Regions from separate parts of the Homo sapiens genome. Here regions 2, 3 and 4 are each linked to region 1. The links are contacts of gene promoters, found by promoter capture Hi-C in blood cells and fetal thymus (Javierre and others, 2016). All regions are on one chromosome and are shown on one strand. The core of a region is centred on a gene start or on the middle of the fragment in contact, and the rest is flanking DNA. Distances in the headings are between cores, read along the strand shown. Region 1 holds the start of DPPA3 (developmental pluripotency associated 3). Region 2 overlaps PEX5 (peroxisomal biogenesis factor 5). Region 3 has its middle 47 kb from the start of PEX5. Region 4 has its middle 44 kb from the start of ACSM4.

The links. Contacts are between HindIII fragments. The CHiCAGO score rates a contact against its expected background, and 5 or more counts as called.
Region 2: a fragment that was not itself captured here is called in contact with the fragment with the promoter of DPPA3 in region 1 in 6 of 17 cell types (M0 macrophages, M2 macrophages, total B cells and 3 more); the score reaches 7.9 in M0 macrophages.
Region 3: a fragment that was not itself captured here is called in contact with the fragment with the promoter of DPPA3 in region 1 in 13 of 17 cell types (total CD4 T cells, non-activated CD4 T cells, naive B cells and 10 more); the score reaches 14.2 in total CD4 T cells.
Region 4: a fragment that was not itself captured here is called in contact with the fragment with the promoter of DPPA3 in region 1 in 1 of 17 cell types (naive CD8 T cells); the score reaches 6.7 in naive CD8 T cells.

The regions. Positions count from the first base shown.
Region 1 is chr12:7,708,104-7,715,710 of GRCh38, reverse strand. It overlaps DPPA3 (developmental pluripotency associated 3), which reads right to left and starts at 4,278. Exons shown (of 4, transcript NM_199286.4): 1 at 4,059-4,278; 2 at 284-528. The coding sequence starts at 4,140. RefSeq lists an enhancer at 7,375-7,607. The HindIII fragment of the contact is 13,723 bases long and covers 438-7,607 here.
Region 2 is chr12:7,204,456-7,212,062 of GRCh38, reverse strand. It overlaps PEX5 (peroxisomal biogenesis factor 5), which reads right to left. Exons shown (of 16, transcript NM_001351132.2): 11 at 4,261-4,404; 12 at 3,983-4,053; 13 at 3,394-3,606; 14 at 2,893-3,058; 15 at 2,223-2,380; 16 at 604-2,041. The coding sequence ends at 1,840. Among named protein-coding and RNA genes, the nearest start is that of PEX5, 19 kb to the right of the region's middle. The HindIII fragment of the contact is 437 bases long and covers 4,666-5,102 here.
Region 3 is chr12:7,233,162-7,240,768 of GRCh38, reverse strand. It overlaps the pseudogene LOC100420983. Among named protein-coding and RNA genes, the nearest start is that of PEX5, 47 kb to the right of the region's middle. The HindIII fragment of the contact is 179 bases long and covers 3,584-3,762 here.
Region 4 is chr12:7,256,291-7,263,897 of GRCh38, reverse strand. No RefSeq gene overlaps it. Among named protein-coding and RNA genes, the nearest start is that of ACSM4, 44 kb to the left of the region's middle. RefSeq lists a silencer at 4,588-4,788. The HindIII fragment of the contact is 875 bases long and covers 4,592-5,466 here.

The DNA of each region.
Region 1 (7,607 bases), core at 3,029-5,528:
ATTCTCTAGCCTCAGCCTCCCAAGTAGCTGAGATTGCAGGTGCCCACCACCAGGCCCAGCTAACTTTTTGTATTTTTAGTAGAGACAGGGTTTCACCATGTTGGCCAGGCTGGTTTCGAACTCCTGTCCTCAGGTGATCCACCTGCCTCAGCCTCCCGAAGTGCTCAGATTACAGGCCTCAGCCACCGCACCGGGCCTAGAGCTAGGGAGTCTTAATTAGGTCTTAATTTATGAGTGTCACTCTCCGGAATTGGACAGCCCCGGCCACATCACATCAACATACCGTACGAACTCCGCCGAGTAACATGTATCTCAATCTTGCCATCTTTTCTCTCTGCACAGACAGCAATGTTCTTACTCCTCTCCTGCTGTAAAGCCACTCATCTTCGATTTCCCTGAGGACTGCTGCTCCTACAGACTCTCGACGGAGTAAAGCTTCCGATAGAGGGGAAACAGATTCGCTACTAGCGTTGATAGTCAAGTTACTAAGGTTCTTTATCAACGTCTCGGAGGAGATTTGAGAGGCCCCTGAAAGAGAAGGTTAAAAGCCATTACATTAAGGGGATCTTCAACATTCACACATCAACTAGGTCTGCCCTTAAGCAGGGGAACAGGGCGCTGTGTGGGAAATTCCTCAGGGTGGAAGGTCACAGTAAACAACGCACAACCTCTAGTCTTTTCTCAAAAATCGCAAAGTTAGCCCAGCGCGGTGGCTCACGCCTGTAATCCCAGCACTTTGGGAGGCCGAGGCGGGCAGATCATAAGGTCAGGAGATCGAGACCATCCTGGCTAATACGGTGAAACCCCCTCTCTACTAAAAAATACAAAAAATTAGCCGGGCGTTGTGGCGGGCGCCTGTAGTCCCAGGTACTTGGGAGGCTGAGGCAGGAGAATGGTGTGAACCCAGGAGGTGGAGCTTGCAGTGAGCCGAGATCGCGCCACTGCACTCTAGTCTGGGGGACAGAGCAAGACTCCGTCTCAAAAAAATAAATAAATAAAAATAAAAATAGAAATAAAACTACAAAATTAGCCAGGCGTGGTGGTGGTGCATGCCTGTAATCCCAGCTACTCGGGAAGCTGAGGCAGGAGAATCGCTTGAATCCGGGAAGCGGAGGTTTGCAGTGACCTCAGGTTGCGCCACTGCACTCCAGCCTGGGCAACAAGAGCAAAACTCCGTCTCAAAAAAAAAGGAAAGTCAAGGCAGGAAGAAGTCACTTGTACAGGGGCACATGATAACACAGTTGACCCTTGAACAACACGGGTTTAAACTTTGGGTCCCACTTACGCGAGAATTTTTTCCAACCAATCACAAAATTCGAAATCCCCACACACACTGTTAACCTTTTTCACAAGGTTTCGCAGGGCCCACTGTGGCACTTGATCACTTACAGATTTTGGGGATGTCCTGGAACAATTCCCAGAGTATAACCGAGGGATGACTGTAATCCCTTGTTTTCTAGACTGTTATTATTATTATTATTAAGACGGAGTCTCGCTCTGCCTCCCAGGCTGGAGTGCAGTGGCGCCATCTCGGCTCACTGCAAGCTCCGCCTCCCGGGTTCACGCCATTCTCCTGCCTCAGCCTCCCGAGCAGCTGGGACTACAGGCGCCCACCACCATGCCCGGCTAATTTTTTTCTATTTTTTAGTAGAGAAGGGGTTTCACCGTGTTAGCCAGGATGGTAGACTGTTATTTTTTGAGACAGGGTCTTGCTCTGTCACCCAGGCTGGAGTGCAGTGGCACTATCATGGCTCATTGCAGCCTCTACCTCCCAGGCTCAAGGGATCCTCCCACCTCAGCGTCCAGAGTAGCTGGCGCTACAAGCGTGTCCCACACGCTGCCCTGAGCTAGCTTTGTTCACTTACACTTAAGAGATCCACTGAGTATCTCACAAGCATTACCTACCGTACATTCTGTGGAATCTTGTGAAAGAGACAAGAAAAACCCATATACTATTTTCTCCCAGAATCCTCATCCTTAAGCAAAACTGGGCAGTCGAAGTAAGTGGCTGTTACCCTCTCCAGTTAGCCCTAATTTAGTTGCCCAGCTCCTTCATGGTATTAGATCTCTTCACTCAAACTCTATTTTGGGAAATCAACCACTCATTCTCGTCTCTCCCATCCGAACTGTGAGGCGTATCCCATACATACGCATATCTCATACAATAAGAAGGTTATCGTTAACTGCCCGTGTATGTGTGTTTTGTTTTGTTTTTTGCCCCCTATATGTGAAAGTATTAAACAATATCAAAGTTCGAGATCGATTCTCAAAGTCTAGGGACCTGTGCACATAGAAACGAGGATCCTTTGTGGAACTGTGAGGTACTAAGGCAGACGCAAGGAAAGGGAGAGACTGGGGGTACGTTCATTTTTCTTTCCCACTCGGATATATAGACCAGCATTCTTTCTTCTGGACGCAGGGGACACAGCTAAGACCAGGCGCAGAGGGCGTCAGCGCGCCAGCGGCCCAGTTCCCAGACCTCCCAGCATCGGGCAGTCGAAGGTGTTGGCTCCAGGGTTTCTGCCGCCACCACCCTAGACACCCAGCCCCGCTGTCAGGGTCATAAATAAGACTTCAAACCACGTGGAGGGCCTCTGTGGCCAAGCCCGCGCTTGGGTGCTGCTGTAAGAAAGGAGTTCTCCACCGGAAGACCCGGCCTATCAGGGAGCAGAATTACCCAAGCAGTTTCTAGATAAGCCGCCCTCCGGTGGAGGTCCTGCTACTAATTTACATTACGGAGCACGTTTACGGCCTCTCCCTTCCATTTTCCCAGTGAAGCTGTTAGTCTGTTTATTAACATTTAGCTGGAAAGCCTGTCTCAAAAATGTTGGCTTAGAGCCCGGACTCGGTGGCGCACGCCTGCAGTCCCAGCTACGCAAGAGGATGGACTGAACCCAAGTGTTCGATACCAGCCTGGGCAACATGGAGAGACCCACTGTCAAAAATAAAAATAAAAATAAAAATAGGACGGGCGCGCTGGCTTACGCCTGTAATCCCAGCACTTTGGGAGGCAGAGGTGGGCGGATCACGACGTCAGGAGATCGAGACCAGTCTGGCCAACATAGTGAAACCCTGTCTCTACTAAAAATACAAAAGATTAGCCGGGCGTGGTGGCACATGCCTGTAATCCAGCTACTTTGGAGGCTGAGACAGGAGAATTGCTTGAACCCGAGAGGCGGAGGTTGCAGTGAGCCGACACCGCGCCACTGCACTCCAGCCCGGGCGACAGAGACTCCGTCTCAAAAAAATATATAAATAAAAATAATGTTGGCGAGAGATTAAGAAAAACTTTAGGTTCAACTGAAGTTAAAGTTTCTCATATTGTTTCATTTTTTTTCCCTATCTTTTGTTTATTTGGTCTCTGTATTTGTTCCTTTTTACCGTTCCTGACATGTATTTGCTGTTGGGGAAGATACTGATGCAACGACGCTACGAGCCGCGTTCTGTGATTCCAATTATTTATCCCCAGAAACTGGTCTTAGAAATCTGAAGTACTGGCCGGGCGCAGTGGCTCAAGCCTGTAATCCCAGTACTTTGGGAGGCCGAGGCGGGCGGATCACGAGGTAAGGAGATCAAGACCACCCTGGCTAACACGGTGAAACCCCGTCTCTACCAAAAATACAAAAAAAAAAACGGGCGCGGTGGCGGGCGCCTGTAGTCCCAGCTACTTGGGAGGCTGAGGCAGGAGAATGGCGTGAACCCAGGAGGCGGAACTTGGAGTGAGCCGAGATCGCGCCACTGCACTCCAGCCTGGGCGACAGAGCAAGACTCCGTCTCAAAAAAAAAAAAAGAAAAAAAAAGAAAGAAATCTGAAGTACTCCTAAGCATAGTGAATAAAATAATACATTTCTCACCACCACCATCACCGCTTTTAATAAAGTCTTTGACCTCTCTGTGTTGACTCCCTCTGGTTTGAGGTTTACCTAAATACATTCCTCTTGCAAAGACTGAAGTCAACATTAAAAAAAAAAAAAAAAAAAAAAAAAAAAAGACGGCAGCCTTTTGACCTCCCAACCCCCCTATAGTCAGATAGTCAAGAAGGGCATTATCTGGCTTACCTGAATCGTCCCGGGAATTTTCTTCGGTGAGCATTTGTGGAGACCCTGGGATGTAGGTTGGATTAAACTGTGATGGGTCCATCGGCGTCTTGACACAACACTAGGCTTCTCCAGGATCTTTGAAACGTAGCAGAAACTGATGACAGAGCCTCAAATTGCTACCAGGTAGCCCGGAAAGAGGCTGAAAACCGGAGCTCCAACGAATGGTCAAAGAACTGACGTAAACTATAGGTCCGGCTTCCTTTTAAAATACAGATAAGCCAATCTTCCAGGATATTTGAATGTTAATGATCCCATGATTAGAGGATTAAGGGATCCAAATGATTAAAGGTGAATGGGTGTAGTTTAGACTCATAGGGTAGTTCTTCATCTGCTTTGCATTAAAATAATCTGTCGGATGTCATATCTGCTAGAAAATTTATTAAAATCCTCTTTTTGTGGTTCTGTCTCCCTGAGGTTGCCTTACATATAAGTTGTTTTTTTCTTGTTTTTTTTTTTTTTTTTTTTTCCCAAACTCTACTCCTGGAGATGGCTTCTGTTTTGTGAACTGGGCTTAAGTGTTCTAGTGCAGAGGAGAATGGCAGTTTTTACCGCCCCCGCCCCACCACCACCACTGCCCATAAACTCCCAATTAAGCTGAGAAAGTTTCCTTTAAGTTTTCCTTGCTTCAATCATCTTAAACCTTTGCTGCTACTAAGAAGAGAGGAATAATGAAGAAGTATCTGTTATGAACACTTTCATAGCTTGATATTTTAGGGACATGTATTTTTTATTTGTTAATTTGCTTTATAAACTATAAACAGTACCTAACATTTCTGAGCAGCTGAAATTAACTAACCTTACAAATTGCTACTCCCTCCCCACAAAAAAATGCTTGTATTTGTAGCAAAGCACAACAACATTTAACCACTGATTGTCTGCAGGAGGTGGAAGAACAAGTCCCCAGCTGCCCCTCTCATCTTTTTCCCGTCTTATTCAAATACGCACGTTCCCCCATTCCCTCTCTAGGTGGAAACCACGAGAAAATACTCAAAGGCAACCTTGTTTGGGTTTGGTAAAAAGCAAAAATTGAAGTTATGATTAAGAAATATTTTCATAGAGAATGAGCAGCCATAGGCATAGATCATGTCCCAACACTTTATGCAAGTGATTCTCAAAAGTGTGGTCTCCAGGATCGCTTAATCACCCAGCAGTTAAAGGCTGCAGTGACCTATGATCGTGCCACTGCACTCCAGCCTGGTAGACAGGGCAGGACCCTGCCTCTTGGGAAAAAAAAAAAAGTGCAGTTTACAACAAGCACCTAGTTAACTTAGATATACAAATTCTGAGCTCCAAACCAGCCCTACTGAATCAAAGACTGGCGCCCAGTGGTAATGCTTTAACAAGCCTCCCAGGCAATTCTGCATTTAGCCAGAAGACCCAGAAGTGATCCCCAGGTGATTCTGATGGGTGCTCAAGTTAAGCAGCCCTGCTTTACGGCACTGTGAACTTTCTACTTCTGTTGTTCAGCTCTTGGCTAATCTCCCTCTTGCCTGGGGAATCTCTGATAATCAGTCCGCAAGAATTTCACTGGAGAGATAAATACAAAAAAATCCCATTGCAGGGGGTTTAGGATTAGGAGGTGAGATAACAAAAAGGGCTGAAATAGACTCTCATTTGTAAAAAACCTAGGCTGGGCACAGTGGCTCACGCCTGTAATCCCAGCACTTTGGGAGGCTAAGGCAGGTGGATTGCTTGAAGCCAGGAGTTCGGGACTAACCTGGCCAACATGGTGAAACACTGTCTCCACTAAAAATACAAAAATTAGGCCAGGCACAGTGGCTCACGCCTGTAATCCCAGCACTTTGGGAGGCCGAAGTGGGCGGATCACAAGGTCAGGAGATCAAGACCATCCTGCCTAACACAGTGAAACCCCATCTCTACTAAAAATACAAAAATTTAGCTGAGCGTAGTGGCAGGCGCCTGTAGTCCCAGCTACTCAGGAGGCTGAGGCAGAAGAATTGCTTGAACCCAGGAGGTGCAGGTTGCAGTGAGCCGAGATCATGCCACTGCACTCCAGACTGGGCAACAGAGCAAGACTCCATCTCAGAACAAAATAAATACAACAATTAGCCGGGCATGGTGGCAACCACCTGTAATCACAGCTACCCAAGAGGTTGGGGCAGGAGAATCACTTGAATCTAGGAGGTGGAGGTTGCGGTGAGCCAAGATCGTGCCACTGCACTCCAACCTGGGTGACAGAGCAAGACTCAGTCTCAAAAAAAAAAAAAAAAGACAAATAAAAAAGAAAAGAAGCAAATTAGAAGGATGAGGAACCAAATTTGAAATATGTTAATACATGAGAAGGAAGAGGAAAAAAGCCACATCTGCACGTTAGAAGTCAAGCAAGGATGCCTAAATGGAAAAAATCAAGACATATCATTACAAACTTGCTCTATAGACCAGGCACGGTGGCTTATGCCTGGACTCCCAGCACTTTGGGAGGCCAAAGTGGGTGGATCACCTGAGGTCAGGAGTTCGAGACCAGCCTGGCCAACATGGTGAAACCCCCGTGTCTACTAAAAGTACAAAAATCAGCCAGGCGTGGTGGTGCATGCCTGTAGTCCCAGCTATTTTGGAGGCTAAGGCAGAAGAATTGCTTGAACCCAGAAGGTAGAGGTTGCAGTAAGCCGAGATCATGCTATTGCACTCCAGCCTGGGCAACAAGAGTGAAACTCCATCTCAAAAACAAAACAAAACAACAAAAAAACTTGCTCTACAGAAATACACAAAGGCCGGGCGTGGTGGCTCCCGCCTGGGATCCCAGCACTTTGGGAGCAGATCACTTGAGACCAGGAGTTTGAGACTAGCCTGGCGAACATGGTGAAACCCCACCTCTGCTAAAAATACAAAAATTAGCCGGGTGTGGTGGCACATGCCTGTAGGCCCAGCTACTGGGGAGGCTGAGGTGAGAAAATTGCTTGAACCCGGGAAGCAGAGGTTGCGGTGAGCCCAGATTGCGCCACTGCATTCCAGCCTGGGTGACACAGTGAGAGGCTCTGTCTCAAAAACAAAAACAAAAAAAAGAAAAGAAATACACAAATGCCCCCCAAAAGCCATCCATACCAAAGTTTAAAGTGGGTGCTTATAGGAAAAAGAAAATGAAAAATGCAACAGAGGACGGCAGTTGGGACATGTGTCTGTTTTAAGAAACTTAGAACTATGTGCTACTTTATAGTATATGCACATACAACTTTTTGAATTTAAAAAAGTGGGGGAAAAAGGGGTAAAGGGGCCAGGCACAGTGGCTTATGCCTGTAATCCTAGCACTTTGGAAGGCCAACAGAGAGGCCAGGAGTTTGAGACCAGCCTGGCCAACGTGGCAAAACCCCATCTCTACTAAAAATACAAAAATCAGCGGGGCATGGTGGCATGTGCCTGTAATCCCAGCTCCTTGGGAGGCCGATGTGGGAGAATCCCTTGAACCAGGGAGGGCGAGGTTGCAATGAGCCTGGATGGGCCACTGCACTTCAGCCTGGGCAACAGAGCAATACTCTGTATCAAAAAAAA
Region 2 (7,607 bases), core at 3,635-6,134, 500 kb after region 1:
ACCCAGGAGGCGGAGGCTGCAGTGAGCTGAGATCACGCCATTGCACTCCAGCCTGGGCAAAAAGAGTGAAACACTGCCTTAAAAAAAAAAAAACAAAAAAAAAAAAATTTTTTTTCCAAGTCTAATGTGCCCACAAACATCTATCTCCAAGTATAAATATTTGTGTATATTTTTAAATTTTTCCTCAGGATAAATACCCATCTTGATATGGCACTTGATACAGTTCCCGATAAAGGCAGGCAGAGCCAGATGAAAAGCTTTAGAAACCCTAAGCACTGAAAAACTATCAAAATCCTTCCATGTAATTCATAATACAAAACAACCTAACAATTATATGGCACTGCACACTTTCCTTTGTAGTAGTAACAGGAGTAAAAATTCATGATTATCGACATCTCTTTCTCCTGCTAGCCCAGAGGCCCAGAGAACAGGGACCCTGTCTCCTGTGCTCTATCATTTTTAGAGGGATGAGCAGGTAACCAATATACCAGTGAGAATTTGAAAGGCAGAAACTGTTGAATCCCAGTCCTCCAAACGCCAACTCACCTTCTGCCATCCCAGCTTCATGACCAGCAGAACTCATACCCACATCAGTTCCATTTATTCTTCGTACAAATATTTTACAGTTTTATTTTTAAATCATTTACACATATTCATACAAAGAAAAATAAATTTCAGGATGGAATCCTGGGACCATGGTAGTTTAAAAAAAAAATCTCTCTGATCATTAGCTACTAAAGACAAGGCAAGAGGCTTAGCAGTCATTTCTGGGGGTTAGTGTATCTCCCCATGCAGGGGACAACTGAGAAGAATCCAAGCTGCTCCCTCATCTTCCTTCGATCTAGATGGGGGAAGGGGATTTTCCAATGCTCTCCCCTAGAAACATTTCAAGAAGTACAGCAAAGGCTTATGGTAACACTGAACCTATTTGCTAGAAATCTGGCAAGATTGCACTTTCTGAACCAATTTTCTATAACAGTTGGCTCAATTCCCATTCACAGGTGCTTCTAAGAGGATGAGGGATTGCCGCACTCACCATACCCCCTTCCCACTTGCTCTGTCCTCCCACCAACGTTCCTGAATAGAGCCCTTGATCTCTTCTGATCTAGTCCCTCCCCGCTCCCACCCAGCCTCATTTCACAAGCAAACCTTCCTCCTATGCCACACACCCAGACACTCTGTAGCAATTGGCCCTGGCAGCTCCTGAGGACCGCTGCAGTGATGACACAGGACTATTGCATCAGCATCGTGCTCACAGGGAATCAGAGCTCAGCCAGGAGAGGTCCAAGAATGACAGAACCATGAGCACTCCTACCAAAACTCAGCTCTGCTCAGCCAAATCAACAATTCAACCCAACAGGCCAACTCCTAACACATCCCATCCAGACAGACATTAGAGGCGCACAGCAGATGAACCTCCTACTTACACTGCCCAAGGAAGCTGGACTATCAATTCCCAGTAAAAGTGGGGGAAAGGACAGACATTACAGATGTGGTAGACCCTATCAGAAATGGCAGCTGATGATAACAGTTACCCTAAATCGTGGGGTCCTACCCAAAAAGCAGCACCAAGAAAGGGCATGATGAGCAGAGAGATCTGTAGCTGGATGTACAGCCCTTGAATTACCAAGGGACTCAGAGATGACACAGCTCATTTTCCTACAATTATGTAGGAACTAGAACACAGACTACCCACCCCTACGTTGAGGCAGCTCCTGAAAGGCCGTACCGCTTATGGTCATCAGCCCGCCCCCTTGGTAGGCCCATTTGGGGAGAGGGAATCACATCCAAAGCGGGGATCCCTCCAGGTGGACACTCACAGGGCAGCCCGTCCCACTGTCACTGGGGCAGGCCAAACATAGTTAGGAGGGTGGACAGATCCCGCGCGTCGGCTGCCCCATAGGCATCGCTCTGGCCTAACATAGACAATGCCAAACGCAGGGTGCTCCAGATGTTCTCCGACATGGCACCTCCTTCACCCCGGGGGCCCCGGCTTTTCCTCTGCATGTTCAGGGCCTCCAGAAAGTGCTCCACAGCCTCCCTGTAAGGAAGAAGAGGAATGAGAGCTGTTAAGCTGAACAACAATGGAAGGAAGCAGGTCAGCTAGCAGTGGGAGGGAGAAAGCTAGGGCTGGTTAGTCAAACAGGATCTAAGAATAAGGAGCTAGGGCCAAAGGCAGGGAGAAAAAGCTCATTCATTCATTTCTCAATAGATACTCTCACCGGTGAGCCCCGAGGTTGATGCAGCTGATGCCCAGGTTATAGCGGGACCGGATATAGCCAGGCTGGAGCTCGAGGGCCCGGCGGTACGCAGCTACTGCTTCTTCACTCTGGTTTCCATTGGCCAGGGTGGCGCCTAGCTTATTCCACAGCAAATAGTCCTGGGATAGGGATGCAGAACGGATGGGAACAGCTTGACTCAGCTCAAACTCTGCACATTACTCCACCGACTCAGCTCAAACTCTGCACATTACTCCAGCTGTTTCACTACTCTGTTAGCTAACATGTTTCGTCCCATTCCATTCTCAACAGTTCGGTGTGTGGCTACAATGTAGCCCCTCTCACCCTATGCAGACTCTCTTATGTCCAGATGACCCTACACTCCCAGCCTTCTTTTCCCAGTCCTCCCAAGGCAGTCAGTACATGGAACACTGGAATGAAATACCCCAAGACTCCAAAAGTCTGAACAAATTATTCTTTTTTGTGGGGGTGGGCAGGGTCTTGCTATGTTGCCCAGGCTGGATTTGAACTCCCAGGCTCAAGTGATCCTCCCACTTCAGCCTCCCAAGTAGCTGGGACTACAGGCATGCACCATCAAACCCAGCTTCCCAACAAATGGCTCTTCAATAAGGTACACAGTCATGTCCCATTTCCATTCCTCCCCTGGGCTCACATTGGGACGAACGCTGAGGGCAGCTGTGAAGCAGTCCACGGCCTTGTCATACTCCCCACTCAGGTTGAAAAGGACTCCCAAGCCACACTGCACATCAGGGTCAATGGAGGTAGGGTCCAGCCGCACAGCTGCCAGGAAGAGCTCTTTCACTTCAAGAAACAGGGAGCTGGATGAAAAGGAAAAAAACACAAAGTAGGTAGATGAATGTCTCTATTCCCATCCCCCCAAATTAATTTCTTCATTGATCAACCATATCCCCAACATTCATCAATCTATCAGTCATCTCTTCTACTCTCAAAGTCCAATATAGAAGCCTGTTTTTCTATTTCATCCTAGCACTGAACTGTAGAATGCAGACCTCCTTCAACTTGATCCTAGGTTTCCCATCCCATTCTCAGGACCCTTCAGTCTCAATCCATCCAAACTTCCAAAACCAAGGTCACCCTCCTACTGGGACTTAGGTTACTGTAATTCCTCATCCTAGGAACCCCTCATACTCACTCAGACAAGAGAGATCCCAGGATACGCTTGCTGGGGCCCAGTCCTGCCCCACCAGCCCCTTCTTCAGCAGGTGTCACCAGATGGGCATAGGCTGGTGTGTACCGCAGCCAGTCTCGTAGGGTTTCACAGGCCTGTCGCTGCAGGGACTCGTTGGTGAAGCTCACAGCCAGCGCCATCAGTGCTGTCTGGTTATCTGGCTTTAGCTCCAGACACCTGTTTGATCAGGGATGGGCAGACTTGATATCTGCAATGACTGACACTGGCACATGTGAGCACCCTGGGATCCAAGCCAAGCTTTGAAATGCAGAGTCACAATGGCCTCACCTGTGACTCCTCTGACATGAGTTAATAATAAAGTTACAGATCTAAGGGGAAGGTTTTAGCAGGCAAGGAGCCAACCAAAGCCGCAAATAAAATCAAAAGCCGATGAAGGAATGGAATTCACTCCAACCCTCAGAGTTTCAGCATGAGAAAACACTCTTGATAGCACTCAGAAAGAAGACAAGGATCCAGGTCTGGGCTTCTGTCATTCAAAAGGTTATATGCAGAGCCTTGGAAGCACCTCACCCACACCTTTCAGTGTACTCACCTCCGCAATGCACTGATGGCTAATAGTTCTTGTTCATTCTCTGCCTGGGTGGTACCCAGATACTGCCAAGCCTAGAGGGAAGTTGACAGATTCCATCACCCCATATTCACCTCTCCATTCGCCCTTCCCCCTGGCTTCTCCCACTCACCATCTCGCTCTCAAGCCCCTATCCTAGGCCATCACCCAGGCCCTAACCCATCTGCACTACTCTCCTTGGGGCCTTTCTCAAGATGGAGGAAGCAGTCTCTAGCCAGAAATGAGACTATGGAGTCACTCACTTCCATGTGCTTAGGATCCTGCTGCACAGCTGCCTCAAAAAGCAGCACAGCATTTGGCAGGTCCCCCTCCTGAAGGCGCCGCAGCCCTTCTTCAAAAGGCTGAGGGTGATCACGCAAGGGGTTCTCCTCCTCAAACTGGTACCCCTACAAGAAAAGCACGTGAGAGATGGACTGAGAGGTGGCACCGTCAGAACAGCAGGGATGTGAGGATGACAACCAGCAGGCAGAGAAGCTGAGGGCCTCCAAACAGGTTCCGGAATTAATTGCTGGCAAATTCTCCATATTATAAAGATCATGTATGACACAAGTAAAATCATTTGGTATCAGGTTTGTGCTCCCATCTCCTGTTCATGATACCTGGGAAGCTAGGAAAGTCTACAAATTCATCTGCGCTGGAAATAAGCTTATTTTAGGAAGTCATCACAGGCTTGTATTCCCACACCTTGACTTCTCACCACGGGGCAGAATGTCTCAACAGGATCTGCTTATAGTAATGAGACAAAGTGTCCCTAGCTATGCAAAGTGCATTTCTTGTTATCCTTCAATAATGTGATGATGTATAAAGGAAATGTTGTTTGGAGTCCTGCTATTCAAATATAACTCTTACTTAGCTCAGAGTCATTCCACATGTCAACTAGATAAAACATTTTCAAGCATTTTGAAAATGTTAATTTATTCCCCGATTTCATTCTTAATAATCATGAATATTAATCTGTATCTGACAGTAAGCAAAAGCTGGATCCCAAAATCCAGATGGCAGAGAATACTTCAGAAAGACACCATTCTCTTCCAGCTGAGGATTTCTCACTTTAGAGAAGAGTTACGATACTATCTGCAAAGCTTTGTCAACTGGCATTTTACACTAGGCAGAGAAGAAATGAGGTAAAGGGGAAGTCACTAGTAAGCTGCAAAATCTGGGACATGCAAATAAAAAGTCCGTTTTTGGAGAGTAGTTACCATCATAAAATAATACACCAGAACGAAAACAAGATGCAAAACAACAGGTGGAGGTCTTTCTAAATGCAGTTAAGAATAAATTCAGATAAAACTGTACAAAATAAAGACATGAGGCCCTTTTTCATTATTATTGTGAAAATGATAAAGAATCAAAAACACTTAAATCTTACCAGCAAAATTCTAAGTCATGATCAGATGCAAATTATTTGTCACAAATGAAAATTAAATAATTACAATGGGGGGTTTAAGAAGAAAGACATATTATAGTAGATTTGAGATAAATGTATAGAAAGTATATTTATATTGAAAACAAGTGTGTTTTTGGACATCTCTGCATAATATAAAAACTAAGAAGGCAGAAAATGACGCTAGTCCAGTGATCAGCAAACTTTTTCTGCGAAGGGCCAGATAATAAATATTTCAGGCTTCGTGGATCTGCTGCAACTACTCACCTCTACTGTTGTAGTGCGAAAGCAGCCAGACATAAGTAAACAAATGAGCACGGCTGTCTTCCAATAACATTTTATTTATGGACACTAAAATTTGAATTTTATATAATTTTCACTTGTCACAAAGTATTACTCTTTTGATTTTCTCCAACCATTTAAAAATGTTAAAACCATCCTCAGCTAGTGGATCACTAAAAACATAAAGATTTATCCCACAAGCCAGTGTGCTGGCCCTTGCCCTAGACTATTACAGTTCAATAAAATAAATCCTTCTGCATTCAACCTCAACTATTGTTCATCATTAATACGTGTTTTAAGCCACTCTACAGAAAACAGAGATTACTGTCATCTATAATGCAGTTTCCTAATAAAAGTAATTCCTGCCTCTCAGAGCCATTGAGAACATCAAATGGGAATCTTCACCAACGCCTTACCAAAAAGCTTAAGATACTATCTGTAAATAGCTATTATCCTCACTGCTCTAGATACTTCCTTAAGATATGATGGCCTGTATATGACAGCCAGAAGTGATGCGAATGCTCTTCAGGTGTCTTCATTAGATAATACAACAACTCAATGCCACCATCTTGCAACCACAGGATTCTCTAAGTTTCCTCTCATCCATATTATCTACCCTCCTTGAAGTCTCATCAATTGCTGATCAAAGAGGAATTTTCCAAAATTAGAATATTTGCATAGATGATGGAAAAAGAGTACTCTGGGGGATCCCTCAACAACCCACAGAACACAGGATAAGCTTGGCTTCACTGTTACATCCTGAAAAGCCAAACCCAAGTCATTAATTTTATCTGATACACGGTCTGGTCTGCTCCAAAATCTCATAGGATCAAACTGCAGAAATGATCACTACAAAGAGTTTGTCCCATCACATACTTCTCTTTTATCATAATAGTATATTAATATCTGCCTGAGCTGCAATGTAAATTGTCTCTGAAAATATAAGGGCTATCAATAAACAAACAGTGCATTCAAAGAGATCCATGAATTTATGTAACAATCAAGAGTCAAGTCCTTTGTTTTTAAAAAGTTCTATTGACATGGAATTCAATATTAGCTTAAAGCCAGATACTGTCTAATTGCTTACTACATCACTTTTTGAGGAACATTAATGCAAGTATTTCTAGTCCTAATTTTGCAATATCCCAAAGTATCAATGATATCAAGTAGGGCTCAAGAATCTACAAACATACTTTTAAAGTTTTTAATTAAAAAATGTATTCTGGATATGACACCAAAAGCTCATATCCCAAAAATCATTGCAAAGACTAATGTCAAGAAACTTTCTCCCTATGTTTTCTTCTAGGCATTTTACGGTTTTGGGTACTGCATTTGGGTCTTTAAGCCATTTTGGATTAAGTTTTGTACATAGTGTGAGGTAACGGTTCAGTTTCACTCTTTTGCACATGGATATGCAGTTTCTCCAATACCATTTATCGAAAAGACTATCCTTTCCACATTTCTATTCTTGGAACCTGATCAAATGTGATTTTTTTTCTAAAAAAAAATTTGCTTTCTAATTTGTCACATTGTTCTATGTGTCTGAAAAAAAAAAATGTATTCTGGCCAGCATGTCATAAATACGAGAGTAATAAATGATAAAAGAAAATGCTGCTCATACAAAACTAGTATTATGTCTATATGTATGAAAAGCATGGACATTTTTACATAAATGTACAACTTTCCATTTATAAGTTGATGGGGCCTATGTGACTTATCAAATTGTTAATACAAAATAATAACAAAAGTGTTATCTATATTTCCTTCAGTTCTTCCTTATCAAAATTATATACAATGAACTCATAGTCTAGTGAAATACATGGCAAGGTCCCAGCTGTCTTTTCCCTTATATCACACAGGATAGTTAGAAAAATCCAGATCAGACTGGAATAATAAGCAAAATCATATTTTTCCTAATACTGT
Region 3 (7,607 bases), core at 2,424-4,923, 470 kb after region 1:
CATAAGGGAGACTGAGAAAAATAAGTCAGGATCCCCACTCTCCGGGGGATTCCACATAGAAAACTCAACACACATGGAGAACTTTTCTTGGTCATTTCTCTTAATCTCAGCTCTTTTTTTTTTTTTTTTTCCTGGCCCAGCTGGAAACAGGAATAATAATGGCACTTCACTCACAAGTTTGTCCTGAGGTTTAAATGAGGCAACATGAACACAGCATTTTAGCAAAGGGCCAGGTACGGACTGTGTAAGGGTTGTTGGCTGCTGTTTTCTCAGGCTCATCATTCATCACATGCAATCACTGCTCCCTGGCTTTGAATTGTTCCTTTAATTTTCACACTGCCCATGACAAAAATTTCATCAGAAAAAGGTGCATTTAGACTAAGGTTCTTATACCAGAAACACAATGAAAGGGATTGGTAAAAATGCTCCTTTGCATGAGGCAGGCCCATTTTGCTGGATTGTTCTGTGGAGTGTTCACAGATTCTAACAGCATTTACTCGTTGCCATAGAGACCATGTGACTAATTTGTTCAGATTCTTACATCTAATGGACAACCTGCTTATTGAAGTTCTAATGAACTCCAGTAAAACGCTGTGTAAGCAGCTCACTCCCAAACAACATAATAATCCCAGTAGGTATTTGAGATCTGCATCTCTTCTTTGGAATCTGTGTCTTACGGGTGGGAACAAGATTTTAAAGTTTCAGCGTATTAAGTTGTCTTGTCAAAGTTTGGAAATATTAAGCAATATTCTCTTACAGAAATTCATAATATTAAATTATTTAAAATGTTTTACCTAGGCTTTAACTCAAAAACTCCACAAGAAATACTCAAAGAAGCATTTAAAGAGTTAACAAGAATACTCATTGAAGCAGTATTTACAGTATAAAACATTGGAAATAACCAAAATTTTCAACAATGGTAGATATGATAAATAGATCATCATAGTTGTCCTTGATAGGATTCTATACAATTATTTAAAATGTTGTCATATAAGAGCGGGGTGTGGTGGCTCACACCTGTAATCCCAGCACTTTGGGAGGCCGAGGTGGGAGGATCACTAAACGAGGTCAGGAGTTCCAGACCTGCCTGGCCAACATGGTGAAACCCTGTCGCTACTAAAAATACAAAAATTAGCCAGGTGTGGTCCCGAGCACCTGTAATCCCAGCTACTCAGGAAGCCAAGGCAGGAGAATCTCTTGAACCCGGGAGGCAGAGGTTGCAGTGAGCCGAGATTGTGCCACTGCACTCAGCCTGGGTGACAGAGCAAGACTCTGTCTCAAATAAATAAATAAATAGTCATATAAGATTTACTTGTATCTGAAAATCATAAGTAAAAAAACAGGCTTCACAAAAGCTGATAGAAAATAATCCCATTTTGATAAACAATACACATAAATAGAAAAAGAATAAAGGATATATACACACCAAATGTTCATGGTGAGTGATAATGGTGGCATTATGAATGGACAGGCTTTTCTTCTTTGGTCTTTTCTATATTTTTCAAAGTTTTTTGTATTGAACATAAATGAGTTTTATTATCAGGAAAGGCTAAATAAATACAAGTATTTTTAAAATAATTAAAAGAAAGCTCCCCTTTATAGAAAATATGGACCGTGATCTGCTCATCTTTATGGAATAATGTCACCTAATTAATGTATAAGAAATAGCACTTTCTTATACATACTGCACCTCCCATTTTATTTTATTAATTTTTTTTTAGTCAGGGTCTTGCTCTGTTGCCCAGGCTGGAGCACAGTGGTGTGATCACAGCTCATTACAGCCTTGACCTCCTGGGCTCAGTCTATCCTCCCACCTAAGCCTCCTGAGTAGCTGGGACTACAGGTGCACATCACCATGCCTGGCTAATTTTTTTTTTTTTTTTTTTAGTAGAGATGGGGTTTGTCATGTTGCCCGGGCTAGTCTTGATGCCCTGGGCTCAAGTGATCTGCCCACCTTAGGTTCCCAAAGTGCTGAGATTGCAGGCTTGAGTCACTGTGCCCAGCCACTCTCTATTTTAATAATTGATTCTGAAAAGAAAAGAATCATCTATGGATGCTAAAATAGTTGGGTGAAAGTTAACTGGAGAATAGGATACTTACGCAGTCTCAAATTATTACACAACAGATTACATACTAATTACAAAGAGGAAAATATACCTTTACAATGGAGAGAAATGGCAGTCACCTCTTTAATCGAAAGATCAAAACTGTCAGTATCCAAAACGAGACAACACAATGTTTCCTCAATATAAGCAAATAAGAACTACACATTTCCTACATAACATTCTTGAGAAAGATGTTTATCTCGGATCTCATTATAAGGAAATTAGAAAGTGAGGCATTTTCTAACACAACAGTCCTCTACTCTTCAAAATGTCCATGTCATGAAAAACAAACAATGGTGGTGGGACAGTTTTAGATAAAAATAACTAAGGAGATATGAGAACCAAATAAATAAATGAACCTTGATTGAATTCTGGATTTACCAAAGCTGTAAAACACATTCGAGTACAACTGAGAAAATCTAAATATTGGCTGGATATTAGATAGAATTAAAGAATTATTTTTAATTTTCATAGATGTAATAATGCTGATGATTAAGAAGAAAATCTTTGTTCTTCAGAGAATGCTGCTGAAATATTTAAGAACAAAGTATCATAATGTCTGCACTTACTCCCAAATGTCTCATTAAAAATATACAAATAGGCCGGGTGCAGTGGCTCATGCCTGTAATCCCAGCACTTTGGGAGGCCAAGGTGGGCCAATCACTTGAGGTCAGGAGTTTGAGACCAGGCTGGCCAACATGGTGAAACCCCGTCTCTACTAATAATACAAAAATTAGCCAGGCATGGTGGTGGGTGCCTGTAATTCCAGCTACTCGGGAGGCTGAGGCAGGAGAATCACTTGAACCCAGGAGGCGGAGGATGCAGTGAGTAGAGATCGCACCACTGCACTCCAGTCTGGGTGACAGAGTGAGACTCTGTCTCAAAAAAGGAAAGAAAAAAGCAAATATAAAGTAAATGAGGCAAAATTTTAATAATAAGTGAATATAGGTGAGAGATGTACAAGTAGGTGTTCATTGTGCTACTATTTTGACACTTGTAGACTCAAAAATTTGCAAAATTAAAAGTTGGGACAAAAGTACTTGACAAATCATAAAGTACTCAAAAACAATGGCACTATGATTAGTAGCAACAATGAAAGTATTTAGAGAAAAAGAAACTTTTCTTACCATGTGTGGACAGTACAGAGAAACAGGTTGGTTTAGTTTTATATGAATTGTAATATTTCCTTCTTCCCCTAGAGACAGGATATTTGAGTTTTCACCCACAATCTGAAATTAGGTAACCATTAAAGGGATTTTCCTTACAAACCATTTGTGCTCTTCCTACCAGATCTAAACACAGGATCTAAACTTAAGCCTTACTACCCCCATTCAATATTCCAGGAAAGTGCTTGGTCAGTGTACCTAGAAACTGGGCAACCTAAGAGGGGTGTGGTTGGGTGGTGAGTGTGAGGGTGCCAGAGCTGGAAACATTTGGGTTTGCATGTCCACTCTGACACCTTCTGACTTTGAGAAGCTTGGATGCTTCTCTGAACCTCAGTTTCCTCATCTAGAAAAGCAGAGATTTAAAAATGCACCTACTGTATAGCTTTATTGTGAGGATGAAATAAGGTGATACAGGTAAGGGCTCCAGTGCCTGGTTAGTACAAAGTTTTAAGAAACCAGCATCTCGGGAAGGCCTTTCCAACCAGGAAGCTTAATTAGTCATCAAATGTTTAAGAAAATAAATATAAAAAACATGAAATTTTAAAAACAGATTTGGCAGTTTTATAACAGTATAGGAGGTGGTGTTATTTTTTCCTTTCAAGGATTGGAAGGCAGGTTGGGAGCAAATAAAAAAAAAATTTGAAAATAATGAGTTATTTCAGCTGAGTGGCTTCTTTATTGACTAAAATAGAGGATATGACCGTGAAGTAATGTGACATGAGTTAAAAAGTGGACTGAGATGCTACCTCAATTTTGAGGCCACAACCTTCCAGGTTATCACCTTGGAAAGCAATCTTCATACTCATCTTGAATTTATTATCCTTGCTGAATACTTTGAAACTTTTATATAGGAAGCACCAGCTCTAAGGATCAGAAGGTGCTCAGAGATAGTAGATCTTCATACTTTGATGGCAAACTTTAGACTTTAGGGAAAAAAGTGGCATTTAGTACTAAGTCTAGTAAATTAGATAAATTATCTGGAGAATACAATTTTAAATGAGATTTTTAAAAACTGATTCTATTTTCAATGAAATTGTTCTATGAATTTTATTTTTTGATTGTTTATTGATATTATATAGACATACAGTTGATATAATTTTTATATATTGATCTTATATCCTGCAACTTTGATGAACTCAATTATTAGCTCTAATAGTGTGTGTATGTGTTTGTATGTATGTATTCCTCAGGATTTTCTATATACATTGTGATGTTATCTGTTGAATAGAGATAGTTTTACTTTTTCTTTTCCAATTTGGATGCTATTTCTTTTTCTTGCCTAAATGCCCTGGATAGAACACCTCTATGTTGAATAGAAGTGGCAAGAGTGAATATTCTTGTAAGTCCTGATCTCAATGGGAGCACTTTCAGTCTTTAACTGTTGAGTATGATGTGAGCTGTGGGGTTTCTGTATATGTCCTTTAACAGGTTGAGAAAGTTCCCTTTCATTGCTAGTTTGTTGAGGGTTGTTACCATAAATAGGTGTTAAATTTTGTCAATGATTTTTCTGCATCTACTCAGATGATCAGGTGATTTATGTCCTTTGTTTTACTAATATGGTATATTAATTGGTTTTCATAGTTTGAACCAATTTTGTATTTCTGGTATAATCCCACGTGGTTGTGAAATATATTCCATTTATATGTTCCTTGTTAGGTGGGCTAGTATGTTTTTGAATTTTTTTGCACCTATAGTCATAAGGAATATTAATTTGTGGTTTTCTTTTCTTGTGATGTCTTTGGTTTTGGTGTCAAGATAATCGTGGCTCATACTATGACCCCATTTTGAGGCCCAGCCTCCAAAATCCTGGTCTTACATATTTTTTGGAGAATTTGTGAAGGATTAATGTTAATGCTTCCTTAAATGTTGGATGGAATTCACCATGAAGCCATCTGGGCCTGGCCTTTTCTCTGTGGGAAGTTGTGTGTGTGCACACGTGTGTGTTGGATGGGGAATGTAAGAAATTAAGTTACAATACTTCATTTTGACAAATTGAAAAATTAAAAACCTATTCATCACCTCCAAAAAGTTTCCTTCCACCCTCTGACTTTATTATTATTATTATTTTGGTAATAAGAACACTTAAAATATCTCCTTAGCAAGATTTTAAGAATATAATACAGTATTGTTAACTGTTGGCATTATGCTGTACAGTAGATCTCTAGCAGTTATTCTCTGTGTAGCTGAAATTTTGTACCCTTTGATGAATACCTTCCTGTTTTCTCCTCCCCACCAGCTCCTGGCAACCACCAATTCACTTTCTGGATCTATGAGTTAAACTTTTTTTTTTTTTAAGACAGAATCTTGCTCTGTCACCCAAGCTGGAGTGCAGTGGCGCAATCTCGACTCACTGCAACCTCCGCCTCCCAGGTTCAAGCGATTCTCCTGCCTCAGCCCCCCAAGTAGCTGGAATTACAGTCGTGTGCCACCACGCCAAGCTAATTTTTGTATTTTTAGAGATCTGGAGTTTTACCATGTTGGTCAGTCTGGTCCCAAACACCTGGCCTCAAGTGATCCAAACGTTGGCCGGCCAAACTGCTGGGATTACAGGTGTGAGCCACCTCACCCGGCCAAAATTGTTTTCTTAATTTCCTTTTTGGACAATTTATTGTAGTGTATAGAAACACAACTGATTTTGGTACATCGATATTGTATCCTGAAACTTTGTTAAATTTGTTTATCCTAAGTTTTTTTGGTAAATCTTTAGAATTTTCTATATATCATATATAGAAATATAATTTTCTGCACATCTATAAGATCATGTAATCTGCAAACAGAGATAATTTTACTTCTTCCTTTCTGATTTGAATACTTTTTATTTTCTTTTCTTGTCTACTTACTCTGGCTAGGACTTCTAATTCTATGTTGGATAGAAGTGGTGAGAATGTACATCATTTCCTTGTTCCAGATCTGAGAGAAAACGCTTTCAGTTTGTGACCGTTGAGTATGATGTTAGCTGTGTGCTTTTTATATATGGCCTTTATTTTGTCAAGGTAAATTCCTTCTATACCTAATTTGTTGAGAGTTGTTATCATCAAAGGGTGTTGAATCTTGTGGAATGCTTTTGCTGTATCTTTTGAGATTATCAAGTCATCTTTGTCCCTCATTCTGGTAGAAAGCATGTGTGAAGCCATTTGGGTCTGGGCTTTTCTTTGTTGGAAGGCTTTTTGTTTTTTGTTTTTTGGGGTTTTGTTTGTTTGTTTGTTTTTTGAGATGGAGTCTTGCTCTGTCACCCAGGCTGCAGTGCAGTGGCACAATCTCACTCACTGCAACCTCCACCTCCCGGGTTCAAGCGATCCTCCTGCCTCAGCCAGCCAAGTAGCTGGAATTACAGGTGCGTGCCATCACACCCAGCTAATTTTTGTATTTTTAGTAGACACAGGGTTTCACCATGTTGGCCAGGCTGGTCTCAAACTCCTGACCTCAAACGATCCACCAGCCTTGGCCTGCCAAATGCTGGGATTACAGGCGTGAGCCACCACACCCGCTGGAAGGTTTTTGATTACTAATTTAATCTCCTTATTTGTTATTGGTCTGTTCAGACTTTTTAATTCTTCATAATTCAGTCTTGGTAGGTTGTATGCTTTCAGGACTTTATTTTCTCTAAGTTGTCCATTTTGTTGACGTATAATTATTCTAGGGATTCTTCACATTTCTGTGGCAGGAGTTGCAGTGTCTCCTCTTTCACTCCTGATTTTCTTTCTTTGAGTATTTTTCTCTTTTACTTTTCATAGTTATAGGGTTTGTTGATTTTGTGGAAAGAGTTTTTTCTAAGAAAATCCTAAAGAACATTTTATTTTTTATTTTTTGTTCATACTTTAGTATGCAATGAACATTTTAATTTTTTCTTATTTTTTGAGAGGAAAATTATATGCTCATTTTATTCATGACTCTAAATGCAAAGGTTCAAACAAACAAAAATTAAGAAATTTTACCCAAGAAAATAAAATCAGGAAAGAAATGCAATGCAAATTTAACATTTGAAAATATTTTTAAATTAACTCTAACAGGTTAGTCGAGAAAAACTATTTTATCTTTTCAACAGAATCGGAAAACTCATTTAATATAATGTAATACCTATTCATGATTATTGGAAAAAACAAACATATAAACCGCAACAAATTAGGCTAACTTCCACACTCTGTTAAATAATATATAGTAAAAATGGATATGCAAACAAAAAACAAACAATAGAACTCTACAATAAACATCTTTAAAAAATTGGGTCAATTTCGGAATGATACAATAGTTAAAGTAAATACTAATGTTTGTCTCATTCAGGTTGAGAACTTACTATTTCCTTTTGACCAATGTATAAAAAAAGGCAAGATACACA
Region 4 (7,607 bases), core at 3,780-6,279, 450 kb after region 1:
ACAACCATTATCTGAAGGATCGCCCATCATAAGTGTGGGAAAGGAAGCAATTATGTGCTCCAGCCTAGACATGGTATACATCATTCCAGCTCATAATTCATTGGCCAGAGCTTGTCACAAGGCCCAAGTGGAAATTGTAGTACTATCTGGGGGGTTGATATGCTTTGGATCTGTGTCCCCACCAAATCTCATGTTGAATTATAATTCTCAGTGTTGGAAATGGGGCCTGGTGGGAGGTGATTGGATCATGGGGGCAGATTGGATCATGGGTGCTGATAGCCAGTGAGTTATCATGAGATCTGGTTATTTAAAAGTGTGTAAAGTATGTAGCACCTTCTCCCATCTCTCTTCCTCCTGCTCCGGCTATGTGAAGTGCTGGCTGCCCCTTTGCCTTCTGTCATGATTGTAAGTTTCCTGAGGTCCCCCAGGCAGCAGAAGCTGCTATGCTTCCTGTACAGCCTGCAGAACCATGAGCCAATTAAACCTCTTTTCTGTATAAATTACCCAGTTACCCAGTCTCAGATATTTATTTTTCTTTCTTTTTTTTCAGGTATTTCTTTATAACAATAAGAGAATGGACTAATACAGGGGTGGATAGCTGGGTAATAACTACCACAGTTGTTTTACCACAGTGTTCTAGATTGATTTTATTTCTGGAAGTTTCTTTCTTTCTCTTTCTTTCTTTCTTTCTTTCAACTTTGTTTCTTTCCTCCTTTTTTTCTTTGCCAATCTCTGGGAAATCATTTTTTCTCTGAGACAGTTTTTCACACTATTGCCCAGGCTGGAGTGTAATGGTGCCATTGTGGTTCACTGCAGCCTCAACCTCCAGAGCTCAGGTGATCCTCTCACACCGGCCTCCTGAGTGTCTGGGACTAAGGACATGTGCCTCCATGGCCGGCTGGTGGTAGTTTTTCATAACAGAACCCAAGAGCACTTTCCTAGAGAGCAGTAGTTTAAATATTAGACTGGCCATTTTGTAACCTCAGCAAACTAGGTCTTACAGCAGCAATGATCATAGACTTCGAATCAGAGAGACGCACCTCTGCTACTTAATAGTTGTGTGGCATTACATAAGACACTAAATCTCTCCAAGATGAGTACTGTCATCTCTAAATTGGGTCTTACTCACAGATAAGATGAAATTGTTATGAAGATACTAGACCATCTAGTGAATTGCTTAGTATACAATATCTGGTACATATTACCAATTCAATACATGTTAGTTAGCTTGGAAGATAGAAAGTCTTACATTTTATTAGTTGGTGTTTCTTGAGCCAAGTTTTCTTGGCAGGTAAAGCTTTTATGTTCTCAGGAGGTCTGGCAATTAAGATTGCTCAAATTTCTCTGTGGGGGAATGTTATTTGAAATGATTCTTCTGTTTACCAGGTTCAACTTACATTAATTCTCTGCTTCCACACACAGTCTTTCACCTATATTCTCTTTACTACAGAATATCTGGAAGTCTCTTCTTTTTAAAAAATTTTCTGAAATATATATATGTGTATATTTGTGTGTATATATACCTCTTTTCTGTATAAAGTACCCAGTTACCCAGTCTCAGGTATTTATTTTTCTTTCTTTTTTTTCAGGTATTTCTTTTTTTTTTTTTTTTTTTTTTTTTTTTGAGACAGAGTCTCGCTCTGTTGCCCAGGCTGGAGTGCAGTGGCAGAATCTCAGCTCACTGCAACCTCCACCTCCCCGGTTCAAGCAATTTTCATTCCTCAGCCTCCTGAATAGCTGGGATTGCAGGTGCGCCCCATCATGCCTGGCTAATTTTTATATTTTTAGTAGAGATAGGGTTCCACCATGTTGGCCAGACTGGTCTCGAACTCCTGGCCTCAAGTGATGTGCCTGCCATGACCTCCCAAAGTGCTAGAAGTCTCAATATTAGTCTCAACCTTGGATATCCATCAGAATCCCCAGGGCATTTTTCAAAAGATCTATGCCTGAGCCCCACCTCAGACCAATTAAATCAGTTTCTCTGGGAGTGGGGACCCAGTCATCCATATTTTTAAAGCTCCTCTGGGGATTCTGGTGAGCAGCGAGGACTGAGAACTGCTGCTCTACATGTCTGGTTTTTGCCCATGTCTCTAGCCTCATCTCCTGCCACTGTCCTCCCTGTGCTCATCACGCTTTTTTTTTTGCTGTTCATTGAACATGCCAAGGTGGCTCCTACTCCAGAACCTTGACATTCACTGTTCCCTCAGCCTAAGTGTGTTGCTTCAGATTTCCATATAACTGATTCTTGTTCATGAGGTCTCAACTCAAATGTCATGTCTTCAGAATTTCACTCCACTACCCATTCTAAAGTAGCACTCCTCATCTGGTTTTACTTGAGCTATTTGCTGATTAATCTGCTATTTTCCTGCCTGTCTTCTCATTAGAACGTAGACTCCAAAAAAGTAGAGCTCTTGTCTGATTTATTCACTATTATATGTCCAGGGTTTAGAGCACTATCTGGCACATAGTAGATACTCAATAAATATTTGTTGAATAAATTATTCTTGTCTGCCATAAACTAATATAATTACAAAATGTTGTTTTAATGATCAATTCTTACGATATATTTACAAAACAATCATTTCCTTAGAAGCGAGCCTTGCAGTTTCTATTTTCTCATGCCCCTTTACATAGTTTATATTGTTTAACTATTTGTTATAGGGAGAAAAAAGAGATAACGCTATAGATAAATACCCATTTTTATTACGATTATTGTACCTACAGCCTTTGCTCTATCCTGTTTTCCTGTCCATTTTATTCTTTTCTCTCAGTGGTTACCATCATTCTGAAGGTTTCTTGGGTTTGAAGGCATTGATGTTTCTTTTCCTTAAATTTCTCTCTCTAGTGATCATTAAGAAAGACTAGGGGACTTGAGTGAAATGTCTGGGTTTGAATTCTGACCCTGCAAATTTCCAAGGGCAGGTCATTTAACCTCTTTGAACCTCAGTTTCCTCATTAATGAAGTGAGGACACTAATAGTTTCTCAAAAAACTATTTTTTGAGTTCCTGTCTCAAAAAACTGTCATAAAAGAAAGTGAGAAAATATAGGTAAAATTACCTCCTCCTTGCAGAAGCCATCAGCAACAACTTCCTCAACTTGGAGTCTTTCCCTTTCACTCATTTTTTCTCTTCTACATCCCACCTTCCCTGCGTCCAGGGTCAGGAGGAGGGTGTTCTGGATCCCTCCTCTTTGTCTCTACAGTGGCCTCACCCATTTTTCCTTCTCTTTTCTCTTCCAGCTTCTCTGTTACTGACCCTTTCTCACAAGCAGTCAAACACGCTGACATTGTTCCTCTATTTTAAAAGCCAATACCTCACTCTTGGTCTCCTGTTGCTTATATTAATATTTCTCTCCAGATAAAGTTTTTTGTTGTTGTTGTTGTTTTTGTTTGTTTGTTTGTTTGAGATAGGGTCTTTCTCTGTCACCTAGGCTGGAGTGCAGTAGCCCGATCACAGCTCACTTTAGCATTAAACTCCGGAGCTCAAACAATCCTACTGCCTTGGCCTCCAGAGTAGCTGGAACACAGGTGCGTGTCACCATGCCTGGCTAATTTTTTATTTTTTGTAAAGATGATGTATCGCTATGTTGCCCATGCTGGCAGGTTAAGTTCTCAACAGAAAAGTTCACTTTAATTGAGGCTTTTACAGACTTTTCTTCTAGACACCCCTCCACATACTACATTGGCCTCCTGCCCCAACTTCTCTCCTGAAGCTGCCTTTGCCATAATCATAGGGACCCTCTGGGTGCCACATTCAGTTGTTCATTATACATATTGATCTCTTAACAGCATTTGAAACTACTAACCATTCCTTCTTATAACTTTCTCTTTCCTTGGTTTTTATCATATCATTCTCTTCTGCCATTCCTTTTACCTGTCTAACTGTTCCTGCTTCATCTCTTTCTTGGACTCTTCTTCTTAAATATTGGCATTGCAAGGGCTTCACCTTTAGCCTGCTGTTCTTCTGGAACTATATTCTGTGCCTGAGTGACCTCATTCATGTTCATAAATTCAATCACCATTTATACACTGAAGATTTCCCAAGTTCATCTCTCATTTAAACAACTCTTTTGAGAATTAAACCCATTTCTCCAACTATTTCCTGGTATTTCCTGGACATCTTCACCCAAATGTTCAATGAGCGCCTCAAAAAATCAAGAACATAACAATTCTTGAACATATTCCCCTGTTCCCAGAATATAAGTTCAGGAAAATAGGAACTCTTACCAATATTTTTTATTGCTATATCCCTAGAGCTTATAATATTGTCAGACACATATTAAGTGCTCAGTTAATATTGGTTAAATGAATGGAAATTTTCCCCACCAACCTGTTCTTCCCTCTGTATAGCATTAATATTTGCTCAATTATAGCAACATGGTTTCTTGTCATCTCTTTTTTCCTTAATCCTTATATCCCATTGGTTTTCTATGTTCTGTGTATTCAACCTGCTCAATCTAAAGTCCATTTCTTCTCCTACATTCTCACTGATATTTTTCAGGCATTTATAATCTCTCCTTTTGTATCCTCACTGTTCTTATTCATATGATGGGGATAATAATAGGACTTTTCTCATAGGACAGTCATAAGCTTCAGTGAAGTAATATACCCAAACTCTTAGTATGGTGCTGGGATGACTCAGTAAATTTGGCGAGACAGCTGTATTTCTTATGTATCTATATGGATCTCTACAAATACATCTACATGTAGTAAGAGGACAGTCTAGTTAACCTCCATATTTTAGTGTAAGTCCTAACCCAGGAGAGAATGTATTGAACAGATAAATAAATTTGCTTTGTAATGTCAATCAAGTCATGTCCTTGTTGGCCTTCAGATTATTCATTTATTAATTCAGTTAACTAGACTAGCTAGGATCATTTTATAGCATTTTCATATTACAAAGCACGTTCATAGCCATTAACTCATCTTATTTCCATGGCTATTATTCATCTTATTTCCATAGCATTTATTATCATTAGCACCCCAATTTTCAGGTGAAATAACTGAGGCTTAGGATATTAGTTGTCCATAACCCGTCCACTACTTGTTAAAAGCAGAATCAGGATTTGAACCCAGTCTTCTAATGCTAAGTCCTATTGTTCTAAATATTCAGGTGAAAATATATGCATTTTATTTTCGTGTTTCAGGAAGTTGTTTGTGGTCTCTTATTGCACTGTTTTTTCTTGAGTCAGTTGGTGTTGAAGGATGGAACTTAGTGGTAGAAGCCACTCTAGAGCCCTAGTTCCTTTAGCTTACAGAAGAAAAAGAAACAATAAAAATCCATTTCCTTTAGAGGTTGTGAAATCAGAGGAAAAAGCCACCTCATCCCACACCCCAGTTGTAGTCAAGAGCCAGACTTTGCTGAGGCATTTTGGCAGATTGAACCCTTTGTCTGTGTTGACATAGATGCTGAGGGGAGCTTTCTTTATTATGAGATAAAGAGACAGGATCTGAGATTATAAAAGCTTTCACATGTCAGAAAAAGAACCAGTGGGAACAAGTTCATTCATGAAGCTGCCTTAAGGAACTGCAGGTGTTGAGGCACTGGGAGAGACATACACAAATGGATAGATTTCAGGTTTCCAGGACCTCCACCCAGTCACCATCATAAGTACTCATTTGGGGAATCCAGATTGTTCATTGCCTAGCCCAGTGGTTTTTCAAGTATGTTTTGTGGACCTTCAGAGTCAGAAGAATTTGGGGTATTTTCACTTGTTGCCCTATTTACATGATTTTTCTAAATCATTTGAAAGTAAGTTGCAGACATTATTTTCTTTTTTAAATTCTTCAGCATTCATCTTTAAAACATGAGGACATTCTCCCATATAGCCATAATAGGAGAATATTATGACCATCGAAGACATTCATAATTCCTAAATATCATTTATAACCATTCCACACTAAAAATTCCTCAATGGTCCCAAAATGTCTTTTATAGCTTTTTTAAAAGTCCAGGATTCAAGCACGTCTCCTGTAATGTAGAAGAATTCTCTTGCTTTTTTTACCCATGACATTGTCTTGAGAAGAATCCAGATCAGTTGTTGTCTTGATGAATATCTCACATACTGCCTGTGTATTTTTGTGTCCTTGTGGTCTCAATTAACTTGTTCAGGGAAACTGGCAGTCTACTACGCTGCTGAGAGTATAAATTGAGGTCATCTTCCTGGAGGGAAATGGGTAATATATTTTAAAACTTTCACAGACTTTAAATTAAGCTGGAGCCCGATTAGATTCAGGATAAACACTTCTAGCAGGACATTTCATAAATAATCCATGTATAACGCACTGCATCATCTTACTAGGCACATGATGTCAGATTGTCCCACTATTGATGATGTTAAATTTGTTCACTTGGTTCAGATGGTGTCAGCCACACTTTGCAAGTGTAACTTTCACCTAGAGGACATAGCATCCAGTTATGATCCTTATCTAAATCAATCATTGGAGATTGCAAAATGTTGATTTCCAAATTCTGTTATTCTTTCTACTTTTACTAACCAGAGTTTTCCTCAAAAAGGAATTTTTCTCCCTCCACCCTTTCATCCCCCAACCCACCCTGAGCATCATGGTAGACTCGGAATTTTAAAGATTCTATGGTTTTTTTTTAACCATTGCCTTGATTATATTCCTTTTTCTTTCTTTTTTTTAATTATACTTTAAGTTTCAGGGTACATGTGCACATGGTGCAGGTTAGTTACATACGTATACATGTGCCATGCTGGTGCGCTGCACCCACTAACTCGTCATCTAGCATTAGGTATATCTCCCAATGCTATCCCTCCCCGTTCCCCCAACCCCACCACAGTCCCCAGAGTGTGATATTCCCCATCCTGTGTCCATGTGATCTCATTGTTCAATTCCCACCTATAAGTGAGAATATGCGGTGTTTGGTTTTTTGTTCTTGCTATAGTTTACGGAGAATGATGATTTCCAATTTCATCCATGTCCCTACAAAGGACATGAACTTATCATTTTTTATGGCTGCATAGTATTCCATGGTGTATATGTGCCACATTTTCTTAATCCAGTCTATCGTTGTTGGACATTTGGGTTGGTTGCAAGTCTTTGCTATTGTGAATAGTGCCGCAATAAACTTACGTGTGCATGTGTCTTTATAGCAGCATGATTTATAGTCCTTTGGGAATATACCCAGTAATGGGATGGCTGGGTCAAATGGTATTTCTAGTTCTAGATCCCTGAGGAATCGCCACACTGACTTCCACAATGGCTGAACTAGTTTACAGTCCCACCAACAGTGTAAAAGTGTTCCTATTTCTCCACATTCTCTCCAGCACCTGTTGCTTCCTGACTTTTTAATGATTGCCATTCTAACTGGTGTGAGATGGTATCTCATTGTGGTTTTGATTTGCATTCTCTGATGGCCAGTGATGATGAGCATTTTTTCATGTGTCTTTTGGCTGCATAAATATCCTCTTTTGAGAAGTGTCTGTTCATATCCTTTGCCCACTTTTTGATGGGTTTTTTTTTTCTTGTAAATTTGTTTGAGTTCATTCTAGATTCTGGATATTGGCCCTTTGTCAGATGAGTAGGTTGCGAAAATTTTCTCCCATTTTGTAGGTTGCATGTTCACTCTGATGGTAGTTTCTT